5 separate regions of the Homo sapiens genome follow, and all the other regions are linked to region 3. The links are contacts of gene promoters, found by promoter capture Hi-C in human tissues and cell types (Jung and others, 2019). All regions are on one chromosome and are shown on one strand. The core of a region is centred on a gene start or on the middle of the fragment in contact, and the rest is flanking DNA. Distances in the headings are between cores, read along the strand shown.

The links. Contacts are between HindIII fragments. The study calls those that stand out against the background at their distance.
Region 1: a contact is called between a fragment that was not itself captured here and the fragment with the promoter of XXYLT1 in region 3, in 1 of the 25 tissues and cell types used here (dorsolateral prefrontal cortex).
Region 2: a fragment that was not itself captured here is called in contact with the fragment with the promoter of XXYLT1 in region 3 in 1 of the 25 tissues and cell types used here (dorsolateral prefrontal cortex).
Region 4: a fragment that was not itself captured here is called in contact with the fragment with the promoter of XXYLT1 in region 3 in 1 of the 25 tissues and cell types used here (lymphoblastoid cells).
Region 5: a fragment that was not itself captured here is called in contact with the fragment with the promoter of XXYLT1 in region 3 in 1 of the 25 tissues and cell types used here (spleen).

The regions. Positions count from the first base shown.
Region 1 is chr3:194,734,437-194,737,136 of GRCh38, forward strand. The region is part of intron 1 of LINC01968 (long intergenic non-protein coding RNA 1968); the gene reads left to right. All of the region lies in intron 2 of LOC105374292 (a long non-coding RNA gene), which reads left to right. Among named protein-coding and RNA genes, the nearest start is that of LINC01968, 27 kb to the left of the region's middle. The HindIII fragment of the contact is 7,852 bases long and covers 1-2,700 here.
Region 2 is chr3:194,717,100-194,719,861 of GRCh38, forward strand. The region is part of intron 1 of LINC01968 (long intergenic non-protein coding RNA 1968); the gene reads left to right. The region is part of intron 2 of LOC105374292 (a long non-coding RNA gene); the gene reads left to right. Among named protein-coding and RNA genes, the nearest start is that of LINC01968, 10 kb to the left of the region's middle. The HindIII fragment of the contact is 3,412 bases long and covers 1-2,762 here.
Region 3 is chr3:195,269,790-195,272,489 of GRCh38, forward strand. It overlaps XXYLT1 (xyloside xylosyltransferase 1), which reads right to left and starts at 1,370. Exons shown (of 4, transcript NM_152531.5): 1 at 766-1,370. The coding sequence starts at 1,269. RefSeq lists an enhancer at 609-1,400 and silencers at 651-830, 991-1,520, 1,771-2,000. The HindIII fragment of the contact is 18,362 bases long and covers 1-2,700 here.
Region 4 is chr3:194,638,108-194,640,821 of GRCh38, forward strand. All of the region lies in intron 1 of TMEM44-AS2 (TMEM44 antisense RNA 2), which reads left to right. LSG1 (large 60S subunit nuclear export GTPase 1) reads right to left here. Exons shown (of 14, transcript NM_018385.3): 14 at 2,684-2,714. Among named protein-coding and RNA genes, the nearest start is that of TMEM44, 6.0 kb to the left of the region's middle. The HindIII fragment of the contact is 4,197 bases long and covers 1-2,714 here.
Region 5 is chr3:194,414,350-194,417,049 of GRCh38, forward strand. The region is part of intron 31 of ATP13A3 (ATPase 13A3); the gene reads right to left. Among named protein-coding and RNA genes, the nearest start is that of GP5, 16 kb to the left of the region's middle. The HindIII fragment of the contact is 3,257 bases long and covers 1-2,700 here.

The sequences.
Region 1 (2,700 bases), core at 131-2,630, 540 kb before region 3:
TGTCCCAGCTACTCAGGTGGCTGAGGCAGGGGAATTGCTTGAACCCAGGAAGCGGAGATTGCAGTGAGCCGAGATCACGCCACTGCACTCCAGCCTGGAGACAGAGCAAGACTCTGTCTCAAAAAGAGAGGAAAAAAAAAAAAAACCCAAAAAAAAGGAAAAAAAGAAAAAAGACACCATTTATTTGCTCATCCATAAGAAGCAACTCCCTGGGCTGGGTGCAGTGGCTCACATCTGTAATCCCAGCACTTTGGGAGGCCGAGGCAGGCAGATCACGAGGTCAGGAGATCGAGACCATTCTGACTAATACGGTGAAACCCTCTCTCCTACTAAAAATACAAAAAATTAGCCAGGCGTGGTGACAGGCACCTGTAGTCCCAGCTACTCAGGAGGCTGAGGCAGGAGAATGGGGCGTGAACCTGGGAGGCGGAGGTTGCAGTGAGCCAAGATCGCGCCACTGCACTACAGCCTGGGCGACAGAGAGAGACTCTGTCTCAAAAAAAAAAGAAGCAACTCCGAGCGTCACTTCTATAATAAGTCTAGTTATCTTGTTATTTATTTGTACCTCATCTGCAGGACTTCCTCCACCCAAGTCTTGATGCCTTCAAAGTCATCCATGAAGGTTGGAACCAACTTCTTCAAAATTGGTTGTTAATGTTAGTATTTCAGCCTCCTCCCGTGAATCACTAATGTTCTTAATGGCATCTAGAATGGTGAACCCTTTCCAGAGGGTTTTCAATTTACTTTGCCCAGATCCACCAGATGTGTCATTGTCTATGAGAGCTATGGCCTTACAAAAGCTGCTTTTCTTTTCTATAGTGTTACAACCATAACACTATAGAAATCATCAAATCCAGCTATATACATATAGCTGGGCCTTGTTTTTAATCCAATGGGCCCCTCTGTCTTTTGATTGGAAAATTTAATCCATTTACATTTAAAGTGATTATTGATTTTTAAGAATTATTATTGCTATTTTGGTAATTGTTTTCTAATTTGTAGATCCTTTGTTCCTTTCTTCTTCTGTTGCTGTCTTCCTTTGGGATTTGATGTTTTCTGTAGTGGCATTGATTTCTTTCTCTTTCTGTTTTGTGTATTTAGTGTAGGTTTTTGCTTTGCAGTTACCATGAGGCTTACCTAAAACATCTTATGGTTATAACAGTCTATTTTCAGCTGGTAACAACTTAACTTTTATGACGTACTAAAACACTACTTTTAATCCTCCTCCCACTTTATGTTTTTGATGTCACAATTTACATATTTTCATATTGTGTATCCATTAACAAATTATTGTAGCTATAGTTATTATTAATGTTTTTGTCTTTTCCTACCTCTTTCTAAAGCCTCTCTAATGTCTCCTCATTTCCCAAATTATGGGCCTTTGCAATTCCTACCCCTCTTCTGACCATTGGCATCACCCTGTCTAGACTATGAGCTCATGGAAAGCAGGGGCTGAGTCTCTTTTGTGCTTGGCCCATGGAAGGTGCTTGATCAAAGTTTATTCCTTTATCCTTGTTTTTGTCTTGGGAACATTTCCGCTTCAGCCTATCCTCATTTTTGGCACAAATGATTAGAATTGCAAGAACGTCTCACTGGTTCACCTGCCTCTTTGTCTCCTGAAGGACACTAGGGTTCGGAGAGCCAATGGTCCAATCAAGTGGCCAGGCCTGTGTCCTCTCTTCCTTACCCCTCAGTGGGCACACTGCCCTCTCTTCCTTAACCTTCAGTGGGCACACTGCCTTCTCTTCCTTACCCCTCAGTGGGCACACAGCCTCTGCCTCGGGATGCTCCTTCTGCTTTGGCTTCCTTTGCTTTGGCTTCTGCTGATTCTGTCCTTTTTCTCCAGCTTCTGCTGCAGTGGTCAGGTCTGTTGTTCTGCTGCAGTGGTTTGGTCTGCTGTCCTGCTGCAGTGGTCAGGTCTGCTGTCCTGCTGCAGTGGTCAGGTCTGCTGTTCTGTGTTCTGCTGCAGTGGTTTGGTCTGCTGTCCTGCTGCAGTGGTTGGGTCTGCTGTCCTGCTGCAGTGGTTGGGTCTGCTGTTCTGCTGCAGTGGTCGGATCTGCTGTTCTGTGTCCTGCTGCAGTGGTCAGGTCTGCTGTTCTGTGTTCTGCTGCAGTGGTCGGGTCTGCTGTTCTGCTGCAGTGGTCAGGTCTGCTGTTCTGCTCTCTCTCCTCTTGTGTCTGCTGCTTTGCGTTGGCTTCAGCTTCTGCTTTCTTCTGCCTTGTGCTTTGGCTTCTGCCTTTTCTGCTTCTGCTTTTTTCTCAGCTGCTTTTTCTGTTTCTGCTTCTCATCCTCCCTCTACTACGACTTCCCCAACCCAGTCTTGCTCTTCCGCCCTCTCTTCCCCACTCTTCCGCCCTCTCTTCCCCCTTCTTCTGCTTCCCATGCTTCTTCTACTGCTGTCTCTGCTGGTGCTTCTTCTTAGCTGTTGCTTCTCTCTTCTGCTTCTCTTTCCTCCTGTGCTTGCTGCTTCTGCCTCTGCTTTTCCTGCTGGTGCTTCTTCTGCAACATATTCATCTACTTCTCCTTCTGCTTTTTCTTCCTTTTCCTCCTCCTCTTGCGCTTTTCCTCCTCCTCCTCCTGCCTTTTCTGCTGCTTCTCTTCGTTCTGCTGCTGCTACTTTGGCTTGTTTCCATTTCTCTGCTCTGACTTTTGCTTTTGCTGCTTCTCCTTCTGCCGCAGCTTCTCCTTCCTCCACTGTGA
Region 2 (2,762 bases), core at 173-2,672, 550 kb before region 3:
GTCAGAGAGGGGCTGGCTTCTGCTCGGGGTCGTGGCTGAGTTGTCGGAGAAGCTGGGACTAGCTGTGGCTCTCTCCTCTCTAGCATCCTGCCTCTAGTTGTTCAGCTTTGGACCAACTAGGTTTTCACTTCAGCGTGACACATCGGTGTGGTGAGTTTCAGAGCAAGGATTTACAAAAGGGGATACTGTTATACTGGACCCCTGTTAATGTCAACAGGGACAGCACCAGGCTTGACAAGCCAAAAAAGAGACCCAGAACCAGCGAATGAGACACATGGTTTTATTAGGGGGAATTACACACAAGGATGGTGCAGTGGCGGCAGGCTGAACAGAACTGCCACAGCCTCCAGAAAGCGTGCAGTTAACACAACATTTTTACCTCATATGCTCCCCTTAATGACCTCCACCTGGCAACCTCCATTTAACCCAAAACAAAGAGCTTCAGTCCCCTGTATGGTCCACCTTCGATTGGATGGCTGGGGGCTCAGATGTTCCTCATAGGTAAGGAATGACTCTCTGGGTTGGCCACACTCAGAACTCTGAACACATATTCAAGTGTATCTGCCATACAGAGCCATTCTCTGTGTATGCTTAAGAAGTTATTGCTATCAGGCATGTCTACCATACAAAGGTGTGTCTACCATACAAGGGGCTTGGAAGGGGTCTTGGGAAGAAAAATATGAGTTCAATATGGTGCCTGCAGAATTGGCAAATACGTGACTCCAGTAAAACCACCCAGGGCAGACATCAGTAATCTATCAGGACATTCCTTCCCATTAAGCCTGAACATGGCTTCTTAAGACTCTGATCCAGGCAGCCATGAACGTTCAGCAGAGCGGGAACTCCTGTTAATGAGGCCTAGCCTTACTGAATGCCTGCTATGTGCCAGGCACTTGCTACCTTCACTATCGCAGTACTTCTGCGTAACTCCAAGCAGCAGGCACTGTTAACCTCATTTTACAGATGAGCAAACAGGCTTAGAGAAGTTTCTATCTTGTCTCTCCAGAATGAATCTAAGATTTGAACCTAGGCAGTACAACTCCAGAGGGACAGCTTTGTTTTCAGCTCTTTGTTGCCTTCCACCCCTGATCTGCTACTACTGCCTGCTGCCTTTCTAGGTGCAGAGTCAATGTGACTTGAGGGCGAGAATGAGTTCACATCTCCTGGCTGCTCCTCTAGCTCCCCTAATGGTACACAGCCAATGGTCACAGGCCTCATTTCACAGAAGGAAGCACAGATGGGCTGTGACATTCCAAGGAAACAGCTTAAATGACGGGAAGAAATGGAAATGGGAATAGTTAATTTCCCAACCCAGACCTCTAGGTCAGCCCAGGGACCCCAGGGACTGGGGAAGTTTTAAAAAATGCCTCTTCTTGTTCCTCAAAGCCTAACATGGTTTAATTTTGCAAATACACCTAGGGCCTGGGTCTGAAGAGTAACACAAGCAATAGCTCTGCCTAAAACCTATCTTGGATTTTGTACAAGAAAGTTGTGAAGAAGTAAGAGTGACTGGTGTTAAATGATCATCTCATAGGAATTACTACAGAATTTGACCATCAGCCTGGGCTCCTTTTTGTGCTTCCTGGGACCATCTAAATTAGTAGTTACAACGTTAAGTTACAATGCTAAATTGGAAAAATAAAAGGAGTTTTCAGTTGTGTGTGTGTGTGTGTGTGTGTGTGTGTGTGTGATAATCTATCAAGCTTCTTTAGGAGAAAAACATTAGTTGATTACATTTATTTATTTATTTATTTAGAGATGGAGTCTTGCTCTGTCTCCCAGGCTGGAGTGCAGTGGTGTAATCTCGGCTCACTGCAACCTCTGCCTCCCGGGTTCAAGTGATTCTCCTGCCTCAGCCTCGGAGTAGCTGGGACCACAGGTGCGCACTAACATATCCAGCTAATTTTTGTAGTTGTAGTAAAGATGAGGTTTCACCATGTTGTTCAGGCTAGTCTCGAACTCCTGGCCTCAAGTGGATCTGCCTGCCTTGGCCTCTCAAAGTGTGTGAGCCACCCCGCCTGGCTGATTACACTTTAAATACTATGTTTGCTGTTTCTAAACAGGCATAAAATGGGCTTACTGTTAAAAATGTGGAATCAAATCTGAAAAAAACCCACAAGGATAGTGTCTTTTTCATCTCTGTTGGTCTTAAAAACATTAAAAACGACAACCTAATTAGCTACGTCATTTTCTTTTGACTGTGGGCAGGTGGCTTTCTTTCTGGTATTCTAGAGAAGGATTAAGGATCTAAATAGATTTGCAGATAGACTGGTACAAATGTCTCCATTGTCTGCCTCCTAGGGATGGAGATCAAGAATCCCTACAGGTGGTTTATGAGGTGTACCGGTTTGAATATAACCCCACAAGATCAATATCCTCCTGGAAGCTGTGAATGTGACCTTCCTTGGAAATAGGGCCTTTACATATGCAATCAAGTGAAGATGAGGTGATATAGGATTAGGGTAGATAGACCCTAAATGAAAAGCTTGGTGTCCCTATAAGGAGAGAGAGACACAGGGGAAAAGGCCATGTGATAACACACAGGCAGGGATTGGAGTGATGCAGCTACAAGCCCAGGGGAGACAAGGATCCATGGCCACCACCAGAAGCTGGGAAGAGCCAGGGAAAGGATTCTCCCCTAGAGACTTCAGAGGCAGCATGGCCCTGCTGACACCTTGATTTTGGACTTCCAGCCTCCAGAAGTGAATAGATTTCAGAACAGAATAGATTTCGATTATTTTCAGGCACCAAGTTTGTGGTAC
Region 3 (2,700 bases), core at 120-2,619:
GACCTAGGCAATTCACACTATGTCAGAAACACATCTCAGACAAGGAGAGCCAGGCAGTGAAGACAGATGATAAACAGAGATGGAAGCTGTCATGGAGGCAGACTGGTCCAGCCTGGGACAAGGCGGCCAGCTGTGCTCTCCCCAGATCATATCTGTTCCTCTTGAGCTTTCTCTTCCTCATTCGGAGGAACTCCAGGCTTCTCTAAATGGGTTCATGACCCTTGGAGGAAGGGGAAAAAGGGACACAGAGAGGAGATAAGATGGTTCACAATGAGTTTGACCAGATCCTACTGAAATACCTTAAGAGCAATGAGAAGTGTCACTGCAACTTCAACACTTCCAGAGGCCTCACCAAGGCCCTCTCCAGTTGCTCAGGATGACTACTGGTGACCAGTCCCATCCTCAGAAGTCAAAAACTGAGGAACATAAACAGAGGTGCAGACTCTGAAGGCAGTGCTGAACCCTGCAACGTTAGCAAAATGGGGGCGCGCGGACTCTCCTGGGGGCTGCGCTTAACTGGGGGAGAGGAAAACGAGGCGGTCATTAAAAACGCAGCTCCACTCCTCAGCACCAGCTGAGGGCGTCTGGCTCCCGGACACGCCCCCGAACGAGCCCTCCCGCAGGTTGTGAACACTACATTGCAAGCGGGCAGCTCAGGGAAGATCCTACCCGCTAGTTCCCCGGATCCCCTCCGGGAGCGCAAACTGACCTCGCCTAGGATGGGGTGGGCCACCCACCGGGAGCCCCCAGCCGCGGCCCGCTCACCTTGCACTTGAAGCCAGCGGCGGGCGGCAGGAGCTCCCGCAGCAGGCCCTTGGCCACCTCGCGGCTGGCCTCCTCGCTCACGAAGTGAAGGTTAAGCACCTCGTGCGCCTCGAACTTGGCGAGGCGCAGCAGTGAGCGCAGCGCGACGCGGGCCTTGGCCTGCAGCGCGGCATTGTGCTCCGCCTTGGTGAACATCATCAGCAGGTGGTAGTCCACCGGCCCGGCACCGCCGCCCTCCAAGCTCTTGGCCTTCGCGCCGGGGGCTGGCGCCACGGAGCCCCGCGCTAGCTCCAGCGCGGGCGGCGAGGGCGCGGCGGGAGCCCCGGCGCGGGCCTCCTTCAGCCTCTTGGTGGCGCTGGAGAAGGTCTCCCGGCCTGAGCCGAGGTAGTAGAAGGCGCAGACGGCCAGCGCCGCGGCCAGCAGCAGGGCGCAGTAGTGGGAGCGCACAGCGCCCAGGCGCGCCATGGCCCGAGCGCATGGGAGCCCGCCTCGGAGGAGGCCCATGCGCTACGAGACCGCGGCGCCAGCGGTGCCAGCAACGCGGGAGAGCCCTCGGGTACCCGGACGCCGGCGGCCACTTAGCCCCGGCGCCAGGCGGCGGCCATGAAAGGGGCGGGGCCGCGCCGCCTGGAGCCAATCGCGGGCGCCGGTGCGCGGAGGGGCGGGGCCGGGCGTGCCGAAACCGCTGGGTCCTAGGTTCCAAGGGTATTAGAGGAGGGGTTAGGGTGGGATCCGGCGCCCGGCGTTGGGAGGGGGGGATTCCGGACTCCAGCGTGCTGAGGGCTGGCCCGCTGTCCCGGCTGAGAAATGGCGCCCTACGCGGCGAGCCCCAGAGGATATCCAAGCTGAGTGTTGAAGGGAATGGAGGCGCCCGAACAGAGGAACTTAGGTTAGCCAAAAGCGAAGCTGGAGGCACCAAGAGGTAAAACTTTAATCTCTGCACCTTTTTTCCCTCAATTTCTTGGAGGCTTTAAGCCGTCTCGGCCTCTCCCTGCACACGAGCTGCAGCTAGGCAATTTAAACCGGCAGCTCCTCCCTTTTCCCCCGCCCTGGGAGGAAATGGCCCGGGCCGCACGTCGCGCCGGAGGCCGAGCGGAGGGAGGCTGGAGGATGTGGCCAGCAGGGGGCCCCCGCCGCCCGCACGAACCTGCGAGGCTGCTCCCCGAGCCCCAGCACCGCAAAGCCCTGGAGGGCGACATTCATCCACTTTTGTTTTATAAACAGACTTTTAACACTTTATCAAGAGCCTCCTTGAGGGTACCAGGGAGTTTTGCACGCCGAGGTCACGTGCCCAAAGTCACACAGCTAGCCAGTAGCAATTTTGACCCTAGGCAGTTGCACACTGCTAACTAGATAAAAACGTACTAACTTCAGTCTTCTAAGAATTGAGGCTATACCAGTAGTTTTTAAGTAAACACGTGCAAGTGCTGTGCATGCTGTCTAAATAGACAAAGAACTTGAGTAAGTACAGTAACCCTTCAGTTCTTTGGCCAAGTTCTCTGATTTCTGACCAGAGATTAGGTAAACGGTTTTTCCTGTTATTTCCACATTGTAAGGTTGCATGGATTATCCAACCTCTCTGCTTCAGACCTTGGCTTACATGTCACTACCTACACAAATGATCTCTAAATACCTCCTATCCAGTGTCTGGGCTAAGTGCCATCCTCAATAATTCTGTGAGGGCCACCTAAATATATGTACTACCCTAGTCTCATCTTTCTTCATTGCAAGAACACGTGACTCCAAGAGAACAGAATATACATTTGTTTTTTATTAACCACAATATACCCAGTACCTAACACGGTGCCTACCACATTGGATGAGTCTCAAAAATATACTCAACCATTGAAACAGCATTTTTATTTCTAGAAAATCTTCCTAATAATTTAAGAATGTTCAAAATATTTAACCATAAGAATAAAGCAAGGCCAAGCA
Region 4 (2,714 bases), core at 116-2,615, 630 kb before region 3:
TACTCAGATAATCTGCGATAATCTCCCCATCCTTAATTTAATCACAACTGGCTGGGCATGGCGGCTCACCCCTGTAATCCCAGCACTTTGGGAGGCCAGGGTGGGCGGATCACAAGGTTAAGAGATCGAGACCATCCTGGCCAACAAGGTGAAACCCCGTCTCTACTAAAAATGCAAAAATTAGCTGGGCGTGGTGGTGCGTGCCTGTAATCCCAGCTACTCGGGAGGGATTACAGCTACTGAGGCAGGAGAATTGCTTGAACCTGGGAGGCAGAGGTTGCAATGAGCCAAGCTCGTGCCACTGCACTCCAGCCTGGTGACAGAGACTCCATCTCAAGACCAAAAAAAAAAAAAAAAATTTAATCACAACCACCAAGACCCTTTTTCCATATAAGGTAACATTTGCAGTTTCCAGGGATTAGGGCCTGATATATTCAGGAACCATTGTTCAGCCTCCTACACTGCATCTCCACAAGCTTCATGACAATTCTTACAAGAAACTATGGGTTTTGGAGATGGCCCTCAGTCGGGGAGCTGCTCCCAGTCACTGGACAAGCTGGCTCACGTAAAGAAGCAATGGGAGGCTGGGTGCGATGGCTCACACCTGTAATCCTAGCATTTTGGGAGGCCGAGGCGGGTGGATCATTTGAGATCAGGAGTTCGAGACCAGCCTGGCCAACATGGTGAAACCCTGTCTCTACTAAAAATACAAAAAATAGCCAGGCATAGTGGTGGGTGCCTGTAATCCAGCTACTTGGGAGGCTGAGGCAGATCACTTGAGCCCAGGAGGCGGAGGTTACAGTGAGCAGAGATCACGCCACTGCACTCCAGCTTGGGCGACAAAACAGGACTCTTGTCTCAAAAAACAAGCAAACAAACAAACAAAACAGAAGCAATGGGAAGAGTGTGGGCTCTGGAGCCTGCTGATCTTACACTGGAATTTTCCCTCCGCATTGCAGCAGCTGTGCTGTGACTTGGGGCAAAACACTGGTCCTCTCTGCACTTGTGTGTTCCTTTCTGTAAAAGGAGGAAGGTCAGCTAATGGGGGGGAGACATGCAGCTCAGTTCTTGGTTCTCATCCCTACCTATCCTCTGTTGGGGATCTCATTGGGTCTCTGGCTTTAACTACTGTCCCTGTACCTGCACCTCCCGAATGCGCAGCTCCAGGTCCCTCCTTCTCAAACTTTAGACTCACATACGCAGCTGCCTACTTGATAACTTGACGTCTCCCCTGCATGCCTAATGCACACGTCTAAAGCCAAACTCCTGGCTCTCCCTCACAGGGCTCTTCCACCGCAATCATCCTTGCTTCAGCTGACTTGCCGTCCTGGTCCTGGGGGCCCAAGCCCCAGTGCCTGCGCCACTCTATTACAAAGACACCTCTAAAGGGTGAAGAGTGCCGTCTTTCTACCAGGCTGTGAGCTTCTTGCAGCCAGGGTTGTTTAGTTTACACTTGCATCCTCAGCTTCTAGCTCAGTGCCTGGCACATAATAAGGAAAATATTTACTGAATGAATGCACTGATTTTTTGATTTTTTTTTTTTTTGAGACTGTCTTGTTCTGTCTGTTGCCCAGGCTGGAGTGCAGGGGTGTGATCTTGGCTCACTGCAACCTCTGCCTCCTGGGATTACAGGTGCGTAACACCATGCCCGGCTAATTTTGGTATTTTTAGTAGAGACGGGGTTTCACCATGTTGGCCAGGCTAGTCTTAAACTCCTGACCTCAAGTGATCCACCCGCCTCAGCCTCCCAAAGTGCTGGGATTACAGGCGTGAGCCACCATGCCTGGCCGGATATGCTGATTTTTAAACAAGCCATAAAAATACAACATGTACTACAGCAGGGGCATCTTTAAAGTACATTGACGACACCCCGCATTGTGGGCGGGGGTGTGTGGGGGAAGGTTTCCAAGAAATAATGCATAAGCTGGGCCTTGGAGAATGTTTGCTTTTGGCAACAAGGCCATGGCAGCAGCTCTGCAGAGGCCCTTGGAGGCGGCAAGAGATGGTATAGGGAGAAAGGCAAATAGCAGAGGGAGGGCAGCACCTGCAGGAGGGGAGGCGAGACGGTCAGCGTTCGGTAGCGAGGGAGTCGGGACTTCATCCTGCCGTGAACACTTTGGACGGTATCTTCTAACTAGCTCCCTCTGGGTCATTAGAACCCTGCCCAGGTTCTCCCTGTACTTTCCACAGGGCTCTGCACGTGGTCGGCCCTCAGGAAATGAATCAGTTCCTTAACCAGGCTCCTCAGAGGTCCAGCAGCTGCCCAGGAGCTAAAGATAATGTTTTTGGCCATGGTTCAGAGTTAGCCAAAAAGAAAAACTAACAAGAGGACCGCAGCACTTGTCCTCCTGGACAGTGGGCAGTGATGTGACTGCTCAAAGGCATTTCCTGTTGGCAGAGGTGGCAGGACCTCAGGCACCGTCCTTCTGAAGGAAAGGCTGCAGCGGCCTGGGCGGCCCTACGGGAGTGGGCAGCCAATGGTGACCATAAATCCCAGCCGCCTGGCGGAGACAGGCCAGCAGCTCAACAGCTTTCTCTTCTGGGAGGGCACGTTGCTTGAATCCGGGAGAGGGAGGTTCCAGTGAGCCGAGATCATGCCACTGCACTCCAGCCGGGGCGACAGAGTGAGACTCCGTCTCAAAAAAAAAAAAAAAAAGAAAACCAGAAATACCAGAGACAGTAATTTATAAAGAAAAGAGGTTTAATTGGCTCAC
Region 5 (2,700 bases), core at 29-2,528, 860 kb before region 3:
CTACTCAAAAGGCTGAGCCACGAGAATCACTTGAGCCTGGGAAGTGGAGGCTGCAGTGAGCCGAGATCCTGCCACTGTACTCCAGCGTGGGTGACAGAAGAACCTGCCTTAAAAAAAAAAAAAAAGAGGTACCAATCTAATAACGAAGTACTGGTCAAAACTCAATTATAAAGACAACTTCATAAAAAAAGATGAAGTTAAGAAAAAACAATCTAAGTGTTCACTTTAAAATCTGATTAATTTCTAAGGCCTAAAAAATGGGATAGTTGTAAAGACAGAAAGGTTTATAATAAGAAAACTGAAAGAATCTAACAAATGGCTGGCTACGGAAAGAGGAAGAAAAGGCACAGATAAATAGACACACACGCATGTACACAAGCATGCACACTTCTGACTTGAATAAATAGTGGTACCAAGAAACAGAGAAGAAAAAGGGTTGAAGGAGAACATGATGAGCTTAGTTCTTAAAATGTTTAAATTGAGGGATCTGTTGGGTGGAACACCCAAGTAACAGTCAATATATCAGTGTATTTGCAGGTCTAAAGCTTAGTAGTGAGGTAGGCTCAGGGTATAAAGGTTGGGAGCCTTTAACATATAGATGGTGATTACAGGTGAAGCCATGACTCTAGGGGATATCACCAGAATGTATTGAGTGACCAGAGGAATAAGAACAGAAATGTAAGGAACCCTAACATTTAAGGAATGGGCAGAGGGAGTGGAGCCAAAGTGGAAAATGAGACTGGAGAGTCAGAGCTAAGAAAAGGCCAAAAGACAGCAAAGCATCACAAAATTTCAGAAGAGAGTATCTTAAGAATGATGACATGGCTAACTCGTCAAATACTGCTGGGGAGTCAAGTAAGACTGGAAAAAAATACATTAGGGAGAAAAGTCCATTGGACTTAACAAGTAAGAGGCTAACGGCCTTGCTGAGGGCCGTTTCAGTAGATTGGCAGGGGAAGATGCCAGATTAGTTGACGAACGTGTGGGAGGTGAGCTGAATGTGGTACTATTTCAAGAAAAAGTTGGTTGTGAAACAGAAGACATGTGCACCAGGAGAGAAATATAATGCATTTTGTTTTCTTCTTTTACTGTAAGTGCTTATCTAAACCCCTCAATGAAATATGCAGGGAAACAGACATATACTGCTGGTAAGACTACAACCTGGAACATCTTCAAAGTTCAATAATGCAGAATTTATGAAAATTAAATTTATAGATACCCTCAGACCAAGCAATTCCACTTTTGCATATTTAGCCTATAAATATATATTTGTCTGTAACTGAAGTGTGCAAGGATTTACAATACCACATTCTTTTTTTTTTTTTTTTTTTTTTTTTTGAGACGGAGTCTCGCCCTGTCGCCCAGCCTGGAGTGCAGTGGTGTGATCTTGGCTCACTGCAAGCTCCGCCTCCCGGGTTCACACCATTCTCCTTACAATACCACATTGTTTCTAATAGCAAAACACTGGAACCAACCTAAATATCCAGCAAAACAGGACTAAACAAATTACTAAAAAGTCCCTGCAATGGAATACTCATTTCACAAACTTTGTAAGTTTAAGTTATATAACTTTAAGATCAAACCTGTCCGTAACATACAAGAAAAGAAAATTAAATCTGATCTCATTCATGCAGAGGCAAAAATCCAAAACAAAATCATAGCAACCTAAATCCAAATTTCAAAGAGTGTGCATCATGACCAAACTGAATTTATTCTAGAAATGCAAAGTTAGTTCAATATTTGAATACTGATCAGCTATAATTCATCACATTCTTCAGGGAGAAAAACTGTGTGACCATTTCAATAGCTGCAGAAAAAGCATTAGATTGGCTGGGCACAGTGGCTCACACCTGCAATCCCAGCACTTTGGGAGGCCACGGTGGGTGGATCGTGAGGTCAGGAGTTCGATACCAGTCTGGCCAGATGGTGAAATCCCATCTCTACTAAGAACACAAAAACTTAGCCAGGCATGGTGGCACACGCCTGTAATCCCAGCTACTTGGGAGGCTGAGGCAGGAGAATTGCTTGAACCCGGGAGGTGGAGGTTGCAGTGAGCCGAGATCATGCCACTGCACTCCAGCCTGGGCGACAGAGCGAGACTCCATCTCAAAAAAAAAAGCATTAGATAAAAATTTAAAACCACTTATGTTAACAACACTGTACAACTAAGGAAGCTTCCTTAACCTGATAAAGACTATACACTAGAAATATACAGCAAACAGTTTATCTAATGGTGAACTATTAGGAACACGTCCTTTAGAGACAAGAGTAAGACAAGGATATCACTATCACTATAACTAATATATTAAGACATGAAAAATACAGAAAAAGCACATAAAGACTGTGAAATGTCAGAAACAAACTGCTGGGGAGTCAAGTAAGTAATTACAGCTTGTAATTACTTATATATGATGCCTGTCTAAACAGAAAATCCTAGACAATCTAAAATGTGTCTGAATAAAGTCTGATAAGGCTTCTGGGAACAAGATGAATATCTAAAACAACTGTATTGAGTTCAACAACATAAAAAATTAGAAAATGTCATTTTAATTATAATTTATCAAGGGATCAAAAACTGTTATTACTCTAAGAATCTAACAAAAAATGTACAAAAACCATTAGGGAGAAAACTATCTGACTTACTGAAAGACATTAGGTCAAAAAGACAGAAACAGAACGAGATACTGTTTGTGGGAAGGA